Linked DNA regions of Homo sapiens: regions 1, 2, 4, 5 and 6 are each linked to region 3. Evidence: promoter capture Hi-C in human tissues and cell types (Jung and others, 2019). All regions are on one chromosome and are shown on one strand. The core of a region is centred on a gene start or on the middle of the fragment in contact, and the rest is flanking DNA. Distances in the headings are between cores, read along the strand shown.

What was found. The method cuts DNA at HindIII sites, captures the fragments that hold promoters and counts their contacts. A contact is called where the count stands out against the background at its distance.
Region 1: the fragment with the promoter of AKAP8L here is called in contact with the fragment with the promoter of AP1M1 in region 3 in 5 of the 25 tissues and cell types used here (H1 embryonic stem cells, dorsolateral prefrontal cortex, lymphoblastoid cells and 2 more).
Region 2: the fragment with the promoter of WIZ here is called in contact with the fragment with the promoter of AP1M1 in region 3 in 1 of the 25 tissues and cell types used here (dorsolateral prefrontal cortex).
Region 4: the fragment with the promoter of EPHX3 here is called in contact with the fragment with the promoter of AP1M1 in region 3 in 5 of the 25 tissues and cell types used here (H1 embryonic stem cells, dorsolateral prefrontal cortex, heart left ventricle and 2 more).
Region 5: a contact is called between the fragment with the promoter of CYP4F3 here and the fragment with the promoter of AP1M1 in region 3, in 5 of the 25 tissues and cell types used here (liver, lymphoblastoid cells, mesendoderm cells and 2 more).
Region 6: the fragment with the promoter of AKAP8 here is called in contact with the fragment with the promoter of AP1M1 in region 3 in 4 of the 25 tissues and cell types used here (dorsolateral prefrontal cortex, mesenchymal stem cells, mesendoderm cells and 1 more).

What each region holds. Positions count from the first base shown.
Region 1 is chr19:15,417,701-15,420,581 of GRCh38, forward strand. It overlaps AKAP8L (A-kinase anchoring protein 8 like), which reads right to left and starts at 1,288. Exons shown (of 14, transcript NM_014371.4): 1 at 1,211-1,288. The coding sequence starts at 1,223. WIZ (WIZ zinc finger) reads right to left here. Exons shown (of 13, transcript NM_001371589.1): 13 at 2,278-2,881. The HindIII fragment of the contact is 22,741 bases long and covers 1-2,881 here.
Region 2 is chr19:15,448,706-15,451,495 of GRCh38, forward strand. It overlaps WIZ (WIZ zinc finger), which reads right to left and starts at 1,251. Exons shown (of 13, transcript NM_001371589.1): 1 at 1,093-1,251. It overlaps MIR1470 (microRNA 1470), which reads left to right and starts at 843; the gene lies at 843-903. RefSeq lists silencers at 516-625, 976-1,095, 1,146-1,275. The HindIII fragment of the contact is 11,591 bases long and covers 1-2,790 here.
Region 3 is chr19:16,196,647-16,199,639 of GRCh38, forward strand. AP1M1 (adaptor related protein complex 1 subunit mu 1) reads left to right here and starts at 1,265. Exons shown (of 12, transcript NM_032493.4): 1 at 1,265-1,422. The coding sequence starts at 1,381. RefSeq lists a silencer at 1,409-1,648. The HindIII fragment of the contact is 7,648 bases long and covers 1-2,993 here.
Region 4 is chr19:15,231,024-15,234,081 of GRCh38, forward strand. It overlaps EPHX3 (epoxide hydrolase 3), which reads right to left and starts at 1,425. Exons shown (of 7, transcript NM_024794.3): 1 at 946-1,425; 2 at 753-838; 3 at 216-373; 4 at 1-67. The coding sequence starts at 1,188. RefSeq lists an enhancer at 1,175-1,676 and a silencer at 2,015-2,174. The HindIII fragment of the contact is 16,546 bases long and covers 1-3,058 here.
Region 5 is chr19:15,639,426-15,642,408 of GRCh38, forward strand. CYP4F3 (cytochrome P450 family 4 subfamily F member 3) reads left to right here and starts at 1,472. Exons shown (of 13, transcript NM_000896.3): 1 at 1,472-1,520; 2 at 1,990-2,188. The coding sequence starts at 1,991. The HindIII fragment of the contact is 9,363 bases long and covers 1-2,983 here.
Region 6 is chr19:15,378,344-15,381,366 of GRCh38, forward strand. AKAP8 (A-kinase anchoring protein 8) reads right to left here and starts at 1,444. Exons shown (of 14, transcript NM_005858.4): 1 at 1,370-1,444. The coding sequence starts at 1,388. It overlaps AKAP8L (A-kinase anchoring protein 8 like), which reads right to left. Exons shown (of 14, transcript NM_014371.4): 13 at 2,174-2,269; 14 at 1,707-2,087. The coding sequence ends at 1,779. RefSeq lists enhancers at 585-1,500, 1,435-1,729, 1,501-2,415 and silencers at 690-1,239, 1,580-2,069. The HindIII fragment of the contact is 19,214 bases long and covers 1-3,023 here.

The DNA.
Region 1 (2,881 bases), core at 38-2,537, 780 kb before region 3:
AGGAGCCCCACAGACTCACGTTGCATTCTCAGTTCTCAAAATTCCAAGTAGAATGCAGGTTACCTGGCAACCACACACGCTCAAGCCTATAATACCCTCACCAAACAGGGAGGCCTAGTGTAAGTCTCCTGGCCGAGAAGCCTCATCAGTCACTGCCAAGGCAAACCCAGGAGGCCTTGGCAATTCACCCAGTGATGATTTACAGTCGCCCAAGCATATTGCGGGGGGCGGAGAGGGGCTCTCGGATCTGTCACCCACTCTCCCTTTCAAATCCCATTGGCCTCCCACTGGCCTCCCTGGCTGATCTTCTAACAAGCCAGGCAGTTCCTGCCCGTAAGCCTTTTACAGCAAAAGCTCCCTGGGCCAGATATCTTTATTCGCTCCCTCCATTTAGGTCTCTGCTCAAATGTCACCTCTTTACAGAAGGCTCCAACCACTCCACGTAGTGGAGCGACCCCCGCACGGTACTGACCACCCTAAAATATATCCTACACTCGCTTATTTGCCTATTAAGATCCTCGCCTCTAAGCTGCTTGAGGAATTCTTGTCTGTATTCCCAATACCCAGTCTGTACCGGACACGGTTCATTTGACAGACGCAGAGGGAATTAACATGGAACCTTGTCATTCCTTGCAGTTCAGCCCCTAGGGGCCCAAGGCTCCCCGCTCAGCCCAAACCCTTCCAATATTTACTTATCCCCCTAGGGCCTGGCGCCTTTCCCAGTTCTGAAATAGACAAAAGGGGGTGGTGGGTGGGATCGGGATGGGGGTGTAGAGCTGCGGCGTTTTTGCAGAGAAACTGCGCGGGGGAGGACGCGACAATGGCGACGGCAGCCGAGCCTGCTGCCTGCTCGCAAGGACCAAGGCCTGAGAAAGGGAAACCTAAGGCGTCGAGGTCCAGGAGCGCAGGCCAGGGACGGAGGTGGTGGGGGCGGAGACCTCGTGCGCTGAGGCCCGGACCCACGGACACAGGCGACAGAAGCCAAGACATCAGGCGGCCGGGAGCCGGGACGCCGGCTGCAGACACAGAGAGCTGAGGCAACGAGGCGTGAGGGCAGCGACCCTGAGGCGACGGGCCAGCGGCGCCATTTTGTGACCGCAGGGAAGGCAGTGACGGGGCCCCAGGGGAGGTGCGGGCAAGCCTGGTGCGGCATCCGCACGTCCCTGTCCCATCCCCCACGCAGAGCCCGACCCCACCCTGCCAGGCCCACCTGTGTAGCTCATGGTGGCGGGCAACACAACATCCGACGACGCCGGCTTCTGCTGCTCTGAACATCCGACGCTGCGATAGCTGCTGCTAACCACAGGGTCCCCTCCACACACACCCGAGCCCCGCCTCCCGACCGCATTGGCTCATACCGGCCTCGGCTTCACGTCTATTGGAAGGAACCGCTGTCTATCTCTATGCCTCCTCATATCAGTGGCTGGAAGCTGCTGGCAATCTCGTGAGAGCCCCGCCTTGTCCCCGCCTTCTGTTATTCTAAGGCCTCAGTGATTGGCCTACAGAAGCCGGCAGAGAGGCGGAGTCCTATAGAATTTGAGGGGGCGGAGCTGTGCACTACGGAAAGGCCCAAGGCCCAAGCATGGTCGGGCTGGAGGAGCGCCCGTACCCTGGAGACCCGCCAGAGGGAGTCGGGTCTACGGCTCAGGGCAGGGCTGGGATGCCAACTCCGCCACCGAGGTGCTGGGTAGGGGACCTAGCTAAGTCTCTCAAATTCTCTGGCCTTCGGCTCCAAAACAAGCATAGCAAAGCCATGTTGAGAAGAGAAAATTAAAACAGCACCAAACAAGATGCTGGACACACGTTTCAACATTACGTGACAAAGTGTGTGTAAAGAAATCATTCTGGTGCCAGTGCACTGAATAAATGTGATTAATCGTAACAAAACGATAATATATTTATATGGCATATGCTTATATGTGTAATAATTCCGTTTGTATTGTGTGTCATTCGAATGCTCCTTCAAACCTGCAAAAAGCTTTTAATCCTCACTTAAAACTGAAGCTTGGAACTCATGATTTGCTCAAGGTCCTTGACAGTTACGTGTTAAAATGGGAGCTTTGCTTCTAAAACCCTCCTGATTCACTCTGGGCTCGAGAGATCCTGCAATAGTGCAGCCGGGCACCAGTCATGTCCTCAGTCTGTTTCCTGGGCATATGGAAACCCTGCCAGGGACAACTCATAATTTCTAGAGATGACAGAGCTGCACCGAAGAGTACTTAACACGTGTGTTTGTGAAAACTCATTAAGCTGCGCAATTACGACTTCTACGCTTCGTGTGTTTTAAAACTTTTTTTAAGGTATGCTGTTTCTTTTTGATATTGTTGATTTCTTTAGGTGTAATAGTGGCATTTACAACGTTGAGAGAAACATACTGAAATACTAAGAAGTTAACTGATCTTATGGCCAGGATGTGCTTCACACAATTCAGACAGGTAGAGAGAGGAGGAGGAAGCAAGGAGCTATAAGATAAATCTCTGACAGCTGAAGACATTGGTCATGGGTTGGTGATGGATAGATGAGAGTCCATTTTACTGTTTGCTCTACTTTTGTATAGTTGGAATTCTCCATGATAAACTGTTTTAATAAAACTCCCCCCACCCAAATGAGGCTTCTGCAGAACTTGCTGCCATACGGAACAAAGCCACTTCTGATGTGTTAAGTGAGCAAACTCCAAACATGAAGCAGAGATCTGACGGATAAGCACTCTGGCTTCGGGGTTCATCTCCCCATCAGCCTCAGGGATGCCTGCCTGTCTTCCAAACCAAGGCAGGGCCCCAGGACACGTCTTCTGCGCCCTGCAGGTTCGTTCCTTCATCGCACTTGCCACAGTCATCATTGTACCGATTTGATTTCGTTCACATCCAACACCCTCAGAGAC
Region 2 (2,790 bases), core at 1-2,500, 750 kb before region 3:
CTGCACTTTCCCCAGTCCTGCCCTCACATCCATGCACACGCACATCCTACTGCCATGCCTTCGTTTCCTCGGCAAGAATCCCAGCCACTTGTACACTCTGATCCTATACACCGTCAGGAGTCTCCCATCATTACCCCTTTACTTTTCTCCATTGGGTTGTCCCATACCAATGATCCCTGCACTTTTCCCACACTCCAACCCTTCCCCCACACAGGACCTTAGGGTTCTCCAGCATTAACCCCTTCACCCCCCTCCACACACACAGCCTCAAGTGACCCCAGCATTAACCCTTTCGCTTCTCCCCAACATTATCCCTCATGCATACCCAGCTTGGGCTCCTCCATTCCCCCCACCCCCCAACCAAGATTGCTCTAGTCCTCGGGCGAAAGAAAACGATAGGGCTCCTGGTCCAGAAATGAGGACCCTGGGGAGCGGGGGTTGTCCTCTCTACCTATAAATACCTTCAAGGTAACGGCGGAAAGTGAAGGGCAGGAATGAGGCGCCCTCCCCAGGGAGATGGTGGGGAGGCCGGGCCCAGGCAACCGGGGCGGGGCCGGGGCGCCAGGCCTGGTTGCAGGCGCTGCCCTCGGGGGCCTGGGGATTCCCAGGGGGCTCCTCCGTGGGCTGGCAGTCTTGGTGGGGGTCCCTACCCAGGCCCGGAGGAAGCACCTGCGGTTGTCCACTGGGTGGGCACTGCCCGCGGGGAACGGGCGGGACCGCAACTTCGGAGCACTTTGGCAGCGTGGGGAGGGGGCTCCTACCCGGACGCCCCCCAGGGGTCGCAGAGGTGGGGGCTGCGCCGCGCGGGCCCACTCCTCGGGGGTCCAGGGTCCGGGGGATGAGCCCTCCGCCCGTGCACCCCGGGGCAGGAGACCCCGCGGGACGCGCCGAGGTAGGGGGGACACCTGCCCCAAGACCCCCGCCCCTCCCCCCACCTGCACGGCCCCGCCCCCGGCCAGGCCCCGCCCCTGAAGGCCCCGCCCCCGCCCCCGCCCCGGGGGGTCCCGCCTGGCCCGGCCCGGCCCGGGGCCTCCCCCGCCCCGCTACGGCTCCGCCCCACCCGCGGGCTCCCCAGGCCGGGCCGGGCCTCACCGGGGAGGCGGCGCCGCCGGCCAGGTGCCGGGGCTCGGAGCTCCCCTCCTTGGTGCGGCCGTCGCTGCCGCTACCGCCGCTGCCGCTCCCGGTGCCGGTGCCGCGGCCTCCGCAGCCGCCGCCGCCTCCACCGCTCGGGGGACATTGTCCCTTTAAATCGCTCCCCCCGCCGCCCCGCCCCCCCGGCGCGCCGCCGTGACCTCAGCGCGACAGCCCCGCCGCGCCGCCATGATGGGGAGGTCCGGGGCGCCCCCCCCACCCCACCCCCCCCCCCCTCGCCGCCCCGGGGGGGGCGGCCAGCGGGCGCGCCGCCATGTTGGGAGTGGCCAAGCGGGTCACCCTTAAAGGGCCCGCACGGCCTGAGTCCAGGGAGAGGCCCCGTTACCATGACAACACCCTTGTCGTCCCACACCCCAATGGCTCCTTATCGTCCCACTGGTACTTCCAATGGTAGGCTCGCTAAAAGCACTAAAAGAGTGGGGAGGGTGCAGAGAAGTTCCCCCATGGGTCATTGATGGGTCATTGATAGGTCATTGAAGACTCCACCCAGCCAATTTTTAGCCTTTTGTCCCCTGCCCCCCATCAGCTACCTTCCAACCACAAGCTCACTCCCTCCTTCCCAATCATCCACACTGGACTTCAGCACCTCCATGTCCCTAGAGTTGCCCTAGGTCTTCAGTCCTAAGTCACCTTCTCCACCCAGTTCCCAGGATCACAGCTTCCAGGACTACCCCATCAGACACACATCATGGCCTGTTGTCTTGTCTTATCCACCATGTATCCAGATATCTAACCACCTAGCTATCTCATCCACTTCCTCAATCTATCAATCACTCATCTACCTATCCAATGAACTAATCACCTATCCACCCACCCCTCCAACCACCTATTAATTCACCCAAACACCCACTCAACCCACCCATTCACTTCCCATCTACCCACCCATTCATCCAGCACCCAAGTAAATACTCATTTATCCATACAACCAAGCAAGTACCCAACCATCCCCACACACATCTTTCCGCCCAGCCCCCCAAACATCCATCCACCAGTTTGTCTGTTGATTTGGTCCCTCCACTAACATGTAAGTTCCATGAGGCCAGGAGTCCTGTCTAGTTCATTATTGTTTCTCCACTGCCCAGTTCTCAGGCGTCTCAGGAGACCTCAACATATGTACATATGATATATATAATCACAACATTGAAAAAAATTTTTTCTTACTATGAACCAGGCCTTTTCTAGGCAGACATACCCAACCTGGTTAACCAACTACCCAGCTACTCACCTACCAGGTCAAACATCCAGCAAATGCTAACCTATCCGTCTGCCGTTTGCTCCACCCACTCTACCCCTCACCCATCCACTCACCCATGATTTGAATGACTCATTTACCCAATCATTCATACACAGTATCCAACCATCTCCACACCTGACCCCCTTCCTTTATCCGCCTCCCAGACCCATGGCCTCCGTGACATGAGGAGGGCCTAGGAAGATGCTCTCACTGTGGGATTGGGAGGTTGCCAGGGGTGGAATCCATGCTTCATTGAGAAGCAGGTGCTGCCTATAACAATGGTGAATACCTTTTATCGAATGCCTTTAACTATGGGTCCTCTCACTGTGTAGGGAACTTTACGTCCATTTCACAGATAAGAAAACGGGCTCTTAAGAGAATGAAGGTCTAAGGTCACACAGCTG
Region 3 (2,993 bases), core at 15-2,514:
CTTATCTTTTAATATTTAACTTAACCCTTGTAATCCCAGCACTTTGGGAGGCCGAGGTGGGTGGATCACGTGAGGTCAGGAGTTTGAGACAAGCCTGGCCAACATGGTGAAACCACGTCTCTACTAAAAATACAAAAATTAGCTAGGTGTGGTGGCACATGCCTGTAATCCCAGCCACTTGAGAGGCTGACACACAAGAGAATCACTTGAACCCAGGAGGCAGAGGTTGCAGTGAGCCGAGATCATGCCATTGCACTCCAGCCTGGGTGACAGAGTGAGACTCCATCTCAAAAAAAAAAAAAAAAAAAAAAGCAAACAACAAAAACCCTCTCTTGGCTGCTTGCTCTGTGCCTTGAGCAAGAATCCTTCCAGCCCAGGAGTCACTTAGCAGTCTTCAAACATTCTAGTTTGCTTCTCTAGAGTTTCGGTCACATTTCTTTCCTAAGCAAAACACTATATAATTACCGAGTTGCAAAAATCATCTTTCCAAACGCCAAAACGGAGATAAGACAGAAAATAAAAGATGTGAGAGGCAGGCATCCTGGGTAAATCACTCTGGTATTGCAGGGTTGGGATCCCCAGGGTACTATGATGGCTAACTGGAACAGAATGCAGGCATTTCTCCAAAGCCCAAGAGTTCATAAAAGCAAATTAAATATGACTCAATGGATTAATCAAGGGCCACCAGTTGCATTACTGATTACTAACTTTGCAGAAATGAAACACGGTATGTTGGGTCAAGGTTCAGTGAGGCTGGTTTTCATAACATTCCAGGCAATAAACAGGCACACTCATTCATTGATAAATGTTGACAATGACAGGTGGTGACTGTTGATAAGGTTTGATTGCCATTCAGAAAGTTTGTTTGACCTCTTTCCAAGTAACCACGACCTTACCTCTCTCTTTTGAGCTTATCACAATTGGTGACTGTACACTTGTTTCATAGACTTCCCCACCAGACTGTGAGCTCCATAGGGCTGGGCCCCAGGTCGGTTTCACCACCAGGCTCTCTCGCCTAACTCGGCCCACGGGAGGCCGTTTCCAGCTGCTCTGGCTCCATAGCTCAGCCTGGCAGCGGCCACTGGGTGCCCTGATTTGGTCGGCCCCGCCCCACCGGGCCTTACTTCCGGGATGCTTCTGGCGGGAGCAAGAAACATGGTTACATACGACGTAATGCGCCTGCGCACAGTCCGTCCTGCGCCTGCGCATTCCTGACAGCACCTCCCGGACCGGACATAACGGTCCCCGCGCGGCTCCCCGAACCGGAAGTGGAGGTGAGCTGTCGCGGGCGGCGCCCGGCCTTGCTCAACGCCCAGCAGTCCCCACCGTCGCTGCCGCCGCCACCGCCCTCGGCCGCTGCCGAGGCCTCCTGCAGCCATCATGTCCGCCAGCGCCGTCTACGTGCTGGACCTGAAGGGCAAGGTACTGAGGGCTCCCCACCCTCCCTGTTGCCAGGCAACCGGCAGGGGCCTCCGCCCGCGGGGACCCACCCTGTTGCTAGGTAACCGGCTTATGAGCCCCATCCTGGTGTGAGGCAGAGAGGCCGGTAGACCTCACCTGAGAGCCCCATCCTGTTTCTGGGTAACCGGGCGGGGGTCTTAAGTGGGTAATCCCCGCCCTGTTGCTACGTAACGCGGTGGGCTGCAGCCACCGCGTTGCCAGGTAACTGACTGCACCGCCCTCTGCTCCCCGGCGCCGGGGCCGGGGGCTCGGGCCTCGGTGGAGGACCCAGAAGCGGGGCCGCAGCCGGCCTCGGAGCCAGGCAGGGCGTCCAGGGGCTGCGCGACCCTTGGCCGGGGGTGGCGAGGCGTGGCGGGGACTGGGTGCTCTCGAGCCAGTCCCGCCTTCTCAGGGCGTTACAGCTTCTGTTTATCGTGCACTTTCTCTCAGTAGGAATTTCTCCACGTTCATTGTGATAGTGAGTTACAAGGATTAGGTGAGGTGAGTGGTGATCACGAGTGCCGTTTTATAGAGGGAGAAACTGAGGCATGGAGAGGTGAAGCAACCTGACCAAGGTCACAATGGTCACAGAGAAGTAGCAAGTCTAGGAGTCCGATCCAGAATCATTCGTTTATTCAGCTGATATCTGGGGAGCACCTACTAATGCCGGGCAGGGTACTAAGCCTGGGGTCGATTTGTGTTTAGCAAAAAACAGTCCCTTTTTTTTTGTTTTGTTTTTGAGATAGTGTCATGCTCAGTCGTCCAGTCTGGAGTGTAGTGGTGCAATCTCCACTCACTGCAACCTCCGCCTCCCGGGTTCAAGCAATTTTCCTGCCTCAGCCTCCCAAGTAGCTGGGATTACAGGCACCTGCCACTACGCCGAGCTAAATTTTGTATTTTTAGTAGAGGCAGGGTTTCACCATGTTGACCAGGCTGGTCTCGAACTCTTGACCTCGAGTGATCCACCTGTCTTAGCCTCCCAAAGTGCTGGGATTACAGGTGTGAGTCATGTGCCAGGGCTCAACAATCTGTGTTCTTACGGTGTTCACAGGCTGGTAGGGGAGATGGATACCCATCTCCAAAAACACAAATAAATGTCAATTGCAGTGGTGTTGAGGGGCGAGTGTGTTATACAGACAGTCAGCCTCAGCCCGAGGATGAGAGAGGGTTTCCCTGAGGAGGGGTGACAAATGGACCAGAGACACCAGGGAGCTGGACATAAACTAGAACCCAGGCATCTTCCCCAGAGGATCTGAGAAAACTTTAAGAAGGGATTGTCCCCACCTTTTAGAAATGGTCCTCTGCCTTCTCCTAAGTCCATCCCAGGTGCAAGGCAGGTGGCTGCCTGGCCTGTTGCATGTGGAAGCAACAAGAACCGGTCCAACAATGTGAAGCCCAACATTGATCAGTGAGAGAAACAAACATGGGTGTCAGGTCCTAGGTGAGGCGGGCAGGGGTGAGCCCTAAAGCAGCTGAGAGTGAAGAGGTGAAATGGCTGCCCCTTCCCGCCCCACCCCACCCCCAGCACTTTCCTGAAGTCCCTTGAGTGGGTG
Region 4 (3,058 bases), core at 175-2,674, 970 kb before region 3:
TAGATGGAGAAATGCCAGGCAAGGAGGGCACCCCAGTCATGGGCCACAAGGATGCACTTCGAGTAACCTGTGGGAATTCAAGGAGCTCGCATAAGTGAGGTGCCCAGTAGGACTGAAGCAGGGATGGGGGAAGTAGGTTCCAGCAAGGAGAAAGCGGGGGTATGCGTGTGTGCAGGATGAGGGAGGCCACGCCTAGGATGGGGGTATGTCTGCACCCAGGCCTAGGATGACATCTTTGATGTCCACCAGCAGCAGGTCGATTGTGTAGCAGTCCACATCCCGAGGTGCATCCGAGGGGCCATAGCCTCGCAAGTCCACAGCCACAACATGGAAGCGGCTCTGGAACTCCCGGAGCTGGTAACGCCAGGAGAACCTGCCAGGCGGGCGAGGGAGGGAGGCTGAGTCAGGGCCCTCAGGTTGCACCTGCACCCTACGCACATCAGCAACCATTGGCAAACCCTCCTTCCTGCTCTAAACTTCCCCTAAAAGGAGGATGGGGAATCCCAGGCAGAGGCAGAGGCTGAGGCTGAAGCCAGCTACACCCTGAATCCAGGGAACTTCAATCAACCTCAATACCCCTTTGTCCTGTCCCTTCAGGGCCTAGGGATCCTGGGTATGCTGGCTCAGTACCCCTATCCCCATCTATGTTCAGCTTGTCCCGATCTATACAGCCCTCCTCCCTGCCTCTTGGGAGCCCAAGCTCCACCTGCCCCCGAGTCCCGTGGGCCTCAGGCCCCTGGCCCCAGACGTACCAGTTCTCAGGGAAGCCGTGCAGAAACAGCATGAGGGGTCCGTTACCTCGTCCAGCCGAGACATAGTGCAGACGCAGGCCCGAGCTCTAGGGGGAGGGCACAGCCTGAAGCCTGGGGAACCCTCTCTCCCGAGGCTTGAACCGTCTCGACCCCACGCGACCCCGCAGCCCCGATAGCGCCCCCGTGCGATCACCTTGAGGTTCAGGAAACCGTGCTCACCCAGCGAGGGGTCGCTCAGGCAGGCGGGGGACGCGCTCCGACGGCGCCCGCAGCAGCCGCGCCGGGGCCGGCACAGCACGTGCGTGAGCGCTATGCAGCCGTAGACCGCCGCGGCCACCAGCGCCACCGAGAACACCAGGCTCCACATGAAGGCGCGCAGCAGCTTCAGCGACAGGCGCGACGGCGCCAGCAGCGCGGTCACCACCAGCTCCGGCATGTCGCCGCGCTCCGGGACCACGGCGGCGCTGCCGGCCAGGGGCACCTGCAGCAGCGGCGAAGCGGTGTCAGGGCTCAGGGGCCCATCGCCCTTGGCCTGGGGCCCCTCCGTGCCGTCGGGATTTGTGGGACGCGCTGAAGGAAGAGGCGGGCGGCTCCGACAGAAAACAGCCAGAGCGCACCACTCACCTGAGTGCCAGGTAAACACCTGGGCGCGACAGGGACAGGAAACAAGGGTAGGGTGCGGAGGCTGGGGAGGAAGAGGTTGGAAAGGGGGGAAATAAATGGGCGGGGCCTAGCAGGTCCTGTGCGGGGCTTAGGGCCGGGGCGGGGCCCAGGAAGACTCAGCAGCGGGTGGGTGAGGGTCTAAAGGCGGCAATTCCGGGCCGGGTGCGGTGGCTCACGCCTGTAATCCCAGCACTTTGGTAGGCCGAGGCGGGCGGATCACCTGAGATCAAGAGCTCGAGACCAGCCTGGGCAACGTGGTGAAACCCCGTCTCTACTAAAAATACAAAAATTAGCTGGGCGTGGTGGCGGGCGCCTGTAGTCCCAGCTACTTGGGAGGCTGAGGCAGGAGAATCGCTTGAACCCGGGACGTGGAGGTTGCAGTGAGCTGAGATCGCGCCACTGTACTCCAGCCTGGGTCACAACAGGGAAACTCCGTCTCAAAAAAGAAAAAAAAAAAAGGCAATTCCGAGCCCAGACAAACCTTAAGGAGGGGATCCTGGATCTTCAGTTAAGTGGGCGACACCTGGAGTGAGGGGCGGGGCATATGCAGAGTAGGTGCGGCCTACAAGCCAAAAAGGAGAAAGAGTTGGAATGGTGGGCCTGGCTTATGCGGGTGGGCGGGGAGAGGGTGGATCCTAGAGGAGGTGAGGCCTAACATTGGGCGAAGAAGGCGGGAGCCTGGGCCAATGAGCTGACGGTAGGCCGGGGAGGGGGCGGTGGGGTGGGGTGGGCAATGGGCAATGAGACGGAGGGCGGGGCCGGGACCTAATATGGCGGGTCAGGAGGGTCTGGAAGACGAAGAAGAGGGACAGGCAATGCCAGGTCTAGGACTAGGAGGGAGGCGCGGGCGGTATTAGCGGCTGGAGGAGGCTTCGGGAGGCCCGGCCGACGGCCGCCGCCTGGTGCTACCCACCCAGGGGCGCGCGACCCTCCCTTCGGTCTGGCTCCAAAGACCTAGCAGCACTGACTTCACCCAGCTGTGGTTCCAACGGCGGGTCCAGCGGCCTCGGCCCGGCGCCGTCCTCCTGCTGGCCCAACAGGCCCGCCAGCCCGCCCCTGTACGTCTGTGATTGGACGGCGGCGGCCACTGATGTTCAAGCGACAGGTCCTGGCCCGGGAGCCAATCTGCAGGTGTTGAGGCCCAGGCTCCGAGAGCGGGCCGAGGAGGCGTGGATACCCTGATTCCTAGGGGGCAGGCCTGGTTCCCCCGAGGAGGACCCGGCCTATGAATGACTGGAGTTCTGGGGTTCTGGCCGAAAGAGGAAGTGGGACAGGGCCGGGTGTGATGGGGCCTAGAGTCACAGAGCCTTGCGGCCCTGCTGTCCCTGCAAGAAGCCAGCTTCTGGCCAGGCGCGGTGGCTCACGCCTGTAATCCCAGCACTTTGGGAGGCCGAGGCGGGCGGATCACGAGGTCAGGAGATCGAGACCATCCTAACATGGTGAAACCCTGTCTCTACTAAAAATACAAAAAATTAGCCAGGCGTGGTGGCGGGCGCCTGTAGTCCCAGCTACTAGGGAGGCTGAGGCAGGAGAACGGCGTGAACCCAGGAGGCGGAGGTTGCAGTGAGCTGAGATTGCGCCACTGCACTCCAGCCAGGGCGACAGAGCGAGACTCCGTCTCAAAAAAAAAAAAAAAAGCAGCC
Region 5 (2,983 bases), core at 222-2,721, 560 kb before region 3:
GCACTTTTTATGTAGCGCAGGCAAGAGTAGGAACTCTTCATGTAGAGCAAGCAGCACTCAGTAGGCACCCTTTATGTACAGAAGGCAGCCCACAGTAGGTACACTTTATGGAGCACAGGCAACACTCGAGCAGGCAGCACTCAATAGACCCTCTTTATGTAGATCAGGAAACACTCAGTAGGAAGTCACCATATAGAGCAGGTGGTATCAGTAGGCACTGTTTATGTAGAGCACTTGGCACTCAGTAGGCATGTGTTATGTAGACAGCAACTGGTGCTCAGTGGGCACTCTTCATATACAGGGGGTGGCACTCAATAGGCACTCACTATGTAGAGCAGGTGGCACACAGTAGGCACTCTATGAGGAATATCAGGAACTGAGTATACAGGGTTAATGTAGAGCACCTGGCACACAGTAGGCACACTTTATGGAAAGCACTTGGCACAGAGTAGACAGGATTTAGCACCTGGCACACAGTAGCTGCCCTTCATTTAGAGTATTGGCACACAGTAGAAGTACTTTCCATGCAGCCTTTGTGCAGAGTAGAGACTGGCACACAGCAGCTCAAGTGCTAGTTGCCACCCTTTCCCTTCACTCCTTTTTGGGGCTCCCTCCTCTTAGGAGCCCTCATTGTCCCCCGCTAAGGCCCTCATCGAACATCCCATTTCCCAGATGGGAAGACTGCACCCAGGAGGGGCAGTACTGACCAAAGTCAGAGCAAGGATGAGGCAGAATGAGGACTCCATTCATGGTTCCCTGGCTCTGCCCTTCCCCTGCCTGGACCCCATCCGTTCCCTCTCATCCTAACCCTCCACGTCCCCGCTCTGTCCTCCTATACTGAGTCCGGCCTCCAGATTTGCTTTTCCAGCTGAGCTCTTAATCTCCAGAATCTGACCCAGGTAATCCTCAGTGGGGCTGGATTCTTTGTTCCCGTTCCTAGCAGTCAGGTCTCCAACAGGGCCCTGGACTGCCTGGAGGCAAGACTTGAACTCCATCCAGCAGCAGGGGGATAGAGGCTTGTCTCTTCCAGGTTGCCTGATTCAGCATCCAGAAGTGGTACACGGTGTCCTACCGGCCCAGGGTTAGAGAGGAGCACAGGAGATGATCTGGAACAAGGCTTGGCCTGGCCTGGCTCGCTTGACACCTGAACTCTCAAGTTCATGCTTTTATCTGCCACACACTCAGTAGGTGCTCTTTAAGAGCAGGTGTCACACAGTGGAAACTCTATCTGACCCCTCTCGGCTTACTCTCCACCTTATGTGGGAGGTGCTGAGACCTGAGGATCCAGTGCCTGTGCTGTGTCACCCTGAGCTGGTTCCTCTGCATCCAGCTGGTCTCCCACACCCAGGTTTTGGCCAGCTGCCCAGACATGGGAGCGGCACCCAGGCTGTGGGGATTGGCTGGCCCAGCCCAGCCCAGCCTAGCCTCCCACAGCCTTCCCTACATCAGGGGCCAGGGGAAAAAACCTCCCAGAAGAAGGGGAGAGGAGGTTGTGTGGGACAAGGTGCTCCTGACAGAAGGTGCCAGGGTGGGGGTGGTGGGCCTGGGGCATCCTAGCCTGTGATGGAGATGGGCACTGGGCAAGGGATTGGGCGCACACATAGGGGAGCCCCAGCCTTCCCACATTCTCCATTGCTGCCCAAGGCCCAGGCAGCTCCTGGTTGCTGGCTTGGAGGATGAGTGGTTTTCTAACTGAAACCAAGCCCCTGGCAACGTCCTAATGATTCAGGCTGGGCCTTTCTGGACTTTAATCAGTTTCTCTGTCTTTCTCAATCTAAGTGCTTACCGGGTAACTGGAGGCCACTTGGTTGCTGGTTTTGGCTGGGCCTTTCTGGACTTTACCCCTCAGCCCCTGTTTATCCATCCCTGTTTACTCTTACTGTTCTATCTCCAGCACTGCCCGTCTCTGCCTCTCTCCACTGTCCCTGGAGCTCCCTGGGCCCTTCCCTGGGCCTCAGGACCTCACTCACCACCCCATCTGCCCTGCAGGATGCCACAGCTGAGCCTGTCCTCGCTGGGCCTTTGGCCAATGGCAGCATCCCCGTGGCTGCTCCTGCTGCTGGTTGGGGCCTCCTGGCTCCTGGCCCGCATCCTGGCCTGGACCTATACCTTCTATGACAACTGCTGCCGCCTCCGGTGTTTCCCGCAACCCCCGAAACGGAATTGGTTCTTGGGTCACCTGGGCCTGGTGAGTGTGGCAGCAGGACGGGTCTGGGGTCTCAGGGTGGATGGACTTCCTGAGGGGTAAGAATGAGGCTCAGGTGAGAGGGGGTGGGCTGGGGTCTGGGGTGGCAGAGAAGCAGGGGAGGCGTCTTACTCATTCCTCTGCTTACTCATTTCTGTGAGGTGCCAACCCAAGCCCTTCTCACCTCCCTGTTCTCCCACTCTTGGCCTGTGTTGAATCCTTTTCCTGCCTGTCTTTCCACATTAATGCACCTCTGCGGGGCTCTTGGGCAGGGGGTTGGGTGCACAGAAAGGTGAACCCCTGGCGTTCCCACATTCTCCATTGCTGGACTCGAGGCCTCCTGTACCCACTGTTCAGGGTCCTCTCCCTACCTGGCCTATTTCCTCTTATGAGGGTATAGGTGGGCCAGAGGAGAGGTGTGGGCTGTCTCTCACCTCCACCACATCCGGAGGCACCTTCCTCTTATCTTGTTCCTCCCCAGTAAGATGTCCCAATGGGGTCCTGTTGCCAAACCCACATAAAAGTTGGCCACTCACTTCCCCTTTCAGAAGCCTTCCCTGACCTTTCTCCTCCCCCAGACCTTGCCCTCTGACTTAGACCTGCTCTCCCCTTTGCGGAACGTGGTCTCAATCTGCTCATTGCAAATGGCAGGATTGATGGGTGTGTCCACAGGTGAAGTGGGAGGGTGCACAGGATGCACTAGCACAGAGCCTGGTGCAGAAGCTTCTCCCAGGTGGGAGCCACTGTCATGATGGACAGTTAGAGTCACCTCTGCTCCCCTAGTGACTGCTGAGAAGG
Region 6 (3,023 bases), core at 194-2,693, 820 kb before region 3:
ACTATTAACCTTAAAACGCTCCCGGAAACACAAGAAATCAGGGAAGCTTAACTATCTCCAGTGTGTCTGAAAGGTTTTCGGCAGGTAGGAAGAGGGGGTAAAAAAAACCTCTCCAAACTAAGAATGAAAAGAAGGAATACAATACCTGCAGAAAAGATCTGATGGGAAAGAAGGGAAAGAATGGTGAAATCTACCCAGGCTGCGGAAGACCAGGAGAGCCAGGCTGAGCCTTCGCTAGGACCCGGAAGACACCAAAGCACACCGCGCACGCTGCCGCCTCAGGACCGAAACCTCTCTCTGCAATTTCTGGTGCTGGGATACTTTTGCCCTGCCACTTCTCAAGATCGACAACTTCTCGAGCTCCTGCAGCCAGGATCAGACCACTAGCTTCTCTACAACCAGTCGAGCTCCACCCAGCATGTCCCAACTATCCCCTGTGGGCAAACTTTGCTCCCAAAAGGCTCTGATTCCAGAAGCAGGGAGCAGGCAGCTCGAGAAGATCGGCCCTACTGCAGGCCAAGCGCTAAATCCTAGTGGGGAAAGGACACGTTCCCTCCTGCACAGCCCCTCGGCCCCTCCAGGCCACCACAACAGACTGCCTAAAGGAGAACTGCCAATGTCACCAGCCCCAGGGCACATCAGGTTTCCAGCTTTATACGAACACTCAGCATCTGCCCCTCACCATCCTGTCCCAAGCCAGCACGCGCCGGGTACAGAGCTGGAGCCCGGCGAGGCTGACTCTCGCGCCGGCAGCACTCGGCCCCACCGCGCTGCACCGGGGACTAAAGGCCCGACCCCGCGCAGCCCGACGGCTTCCGGGACAGGCGCCCTGGGCCACGTGAGCCCAGCGGAGACCCTACACGGCCCCGCGGGCCTAGGGCAGGTCGGGAGAGAGGCGGCCCCCGCGGTCCGCCCGCGGCCCCAGACCCAGCTCCCCGGGTCCGACCTCACAACCCCACGCTGTAGCTCCGCCCCCCTAGCGCCGCCATTTTGTGGCGTCTTCGGAAGAGGAAGCCGGGAGTGCAAACCCCGGGGTCGCTGGGGGCCGGAAGGACTCCGCCGAAGGTGAGGGGCAAAAACGGCCCACACTGTCTAAGACGCCCCCACGAAGCCCACCGCGGCGTCTGCCCCAACCCCGAGTCCCGCCCGCCTCCTCGGGGCCTGGCGGCCAATCCGCACGCAGAGCCCCGGGAGCGACGGCGCCAAAGCCCAATGAGCGGCGCGCGCGCGCCCTGGCCGCCTCTCCGGAGGGCCCAGCTGGGGCAACCACGCTCGGGACGAAGGCCCGGCCGGCGGCAGTCTGCGCAGCGGCTGCGTCGCCCGCACAGAGCCTTCCCTCCCCGCTCCGCACCCAGCAGCCAACACAAACCTCCGTAGCCCTGGTCCATGTCTTCGACGCGGCCCACCAGCAGCCCCGTTTACTAGGCGACCACAGCACGCATGCGTTCAGCGCACCTCCGCCATCGACTACTGGAAGACCAGGCGCACACGTCACTACTTCCGCGCGCCCCCATTGGCTGGTCTTCACGAGGGCCCGCCCTCGCCGTCCCAGCTGGCCTTTCGGGCTGCTACGATCCAGCTCCGTGGCCTAATGGGAGTTGTGGTCCCACCGCGGTGCCCGACGGCCCGGCCCGCGCGCATGCGCACCCCGCCCCTCTGCCCACCCCGCCCCGCCCGCGCGGCACAGTAACAGAGAAACCCGGAGGTGGGATGGGAAAACTTTATTAGGTTTGGTTTCCAGCTTCGGCCACGCGGGCTCCGCCCGCCCCGAGCTCGGGTCACGGGGCGCCCCCGCCGCCCTCCTCGTCGTCCTCCACGTCGAGGCCCGGGATGCCGCGGATCTGGCGTTGCAGCGCCCCTCCCAGCAAGGGCACGGCGCCCTCCTCCTCCTCCTCTGGGGGCGGCGGCGGTGGCGGCGACACGGCCCCGGGGGCTGGCTCTGGGGGCACGGGAGGCTGCGCCGGCACGCCCTCTGCGCCCTCCGAGATCCCTGCCGCTTCGCCCTGCGCCCCCTCGTCCAGGGCACCGCCCTCAGCCTCCTCCTGCTCCTTCTCCTCCTCGGGGCTGTCGGTGAAAGGGTTCTCGCCCTGTGGGGAGGGGCGCGGACACTGAAGGGAGGGAGCACAGGCGGGGACTAAGCTGGGGACAGGGCAGGCCCGGACCAGTGCCTCACCTTCAGGTAGCGCTCCAGCTTCTTGCTGATGAGCTTGTTGTTGAGAATACTGCGGGCCACCATGAGGGAGGACTTCTTGGACTGCTCCATCATGAGCTGCGGGCAGGGCAGAAGGAGCTGGAGAGGCTGCTCTGAGTGCCCTACAAGTTGCTGCCCCGACCCTGCCAGCTTAGAGGGACCCCACCCCGCCCCTGCACCCACGCACTTCCAGCCCCACCAACGGAGGGCCACTCCACAAGCATGGAACCACAACCTATCTGATCTTTGTTCAAATTCCCTCTCCTTCCACACCACACTTACTGTAGGTAAATAAAAATACAGATCTATATATCTCTAACTTTACGGCTGTATTACAGAAATCTGATTTGCTTACAAAAAAGCTATAAGCAGTGAACAATTAAGAAACTAAGAGCCAAAGGTGGGTGCAACCTGTAACAAGGTGCCAACTAGGCTAATAGGCAAGGAGCACTTTGGGGCCAACGGGGAAGATATAAAAACAGGAACAGATATTTAATGAAACGTCTTTTTTAACCCACAGAATTCCAAGAATGAAGAATTATTCCCAGTCATGCAAGGGTGAAGAGAGTCTTCTCTGCTGGTGGGAGGATCAACTGTTTCCGTATTTTTTGGAAAGCAGTTTGACACAATGTATGAAAAGTAAAAATCTGTCTCATTAATCCCTTCCCAGAACGTATCCTAAATTTAAGAACTGGAAACATGCGTGCACACTGATTGTAGTGGTGAAAAATGGGAAAACACCTAAACGTTCCTCAGTGCAGAAGAGGTTAAATAAATCGTACATTCAAAAGAACATCATGCAGCCCTTCAAATCGGGCTCATCTCTGCACTG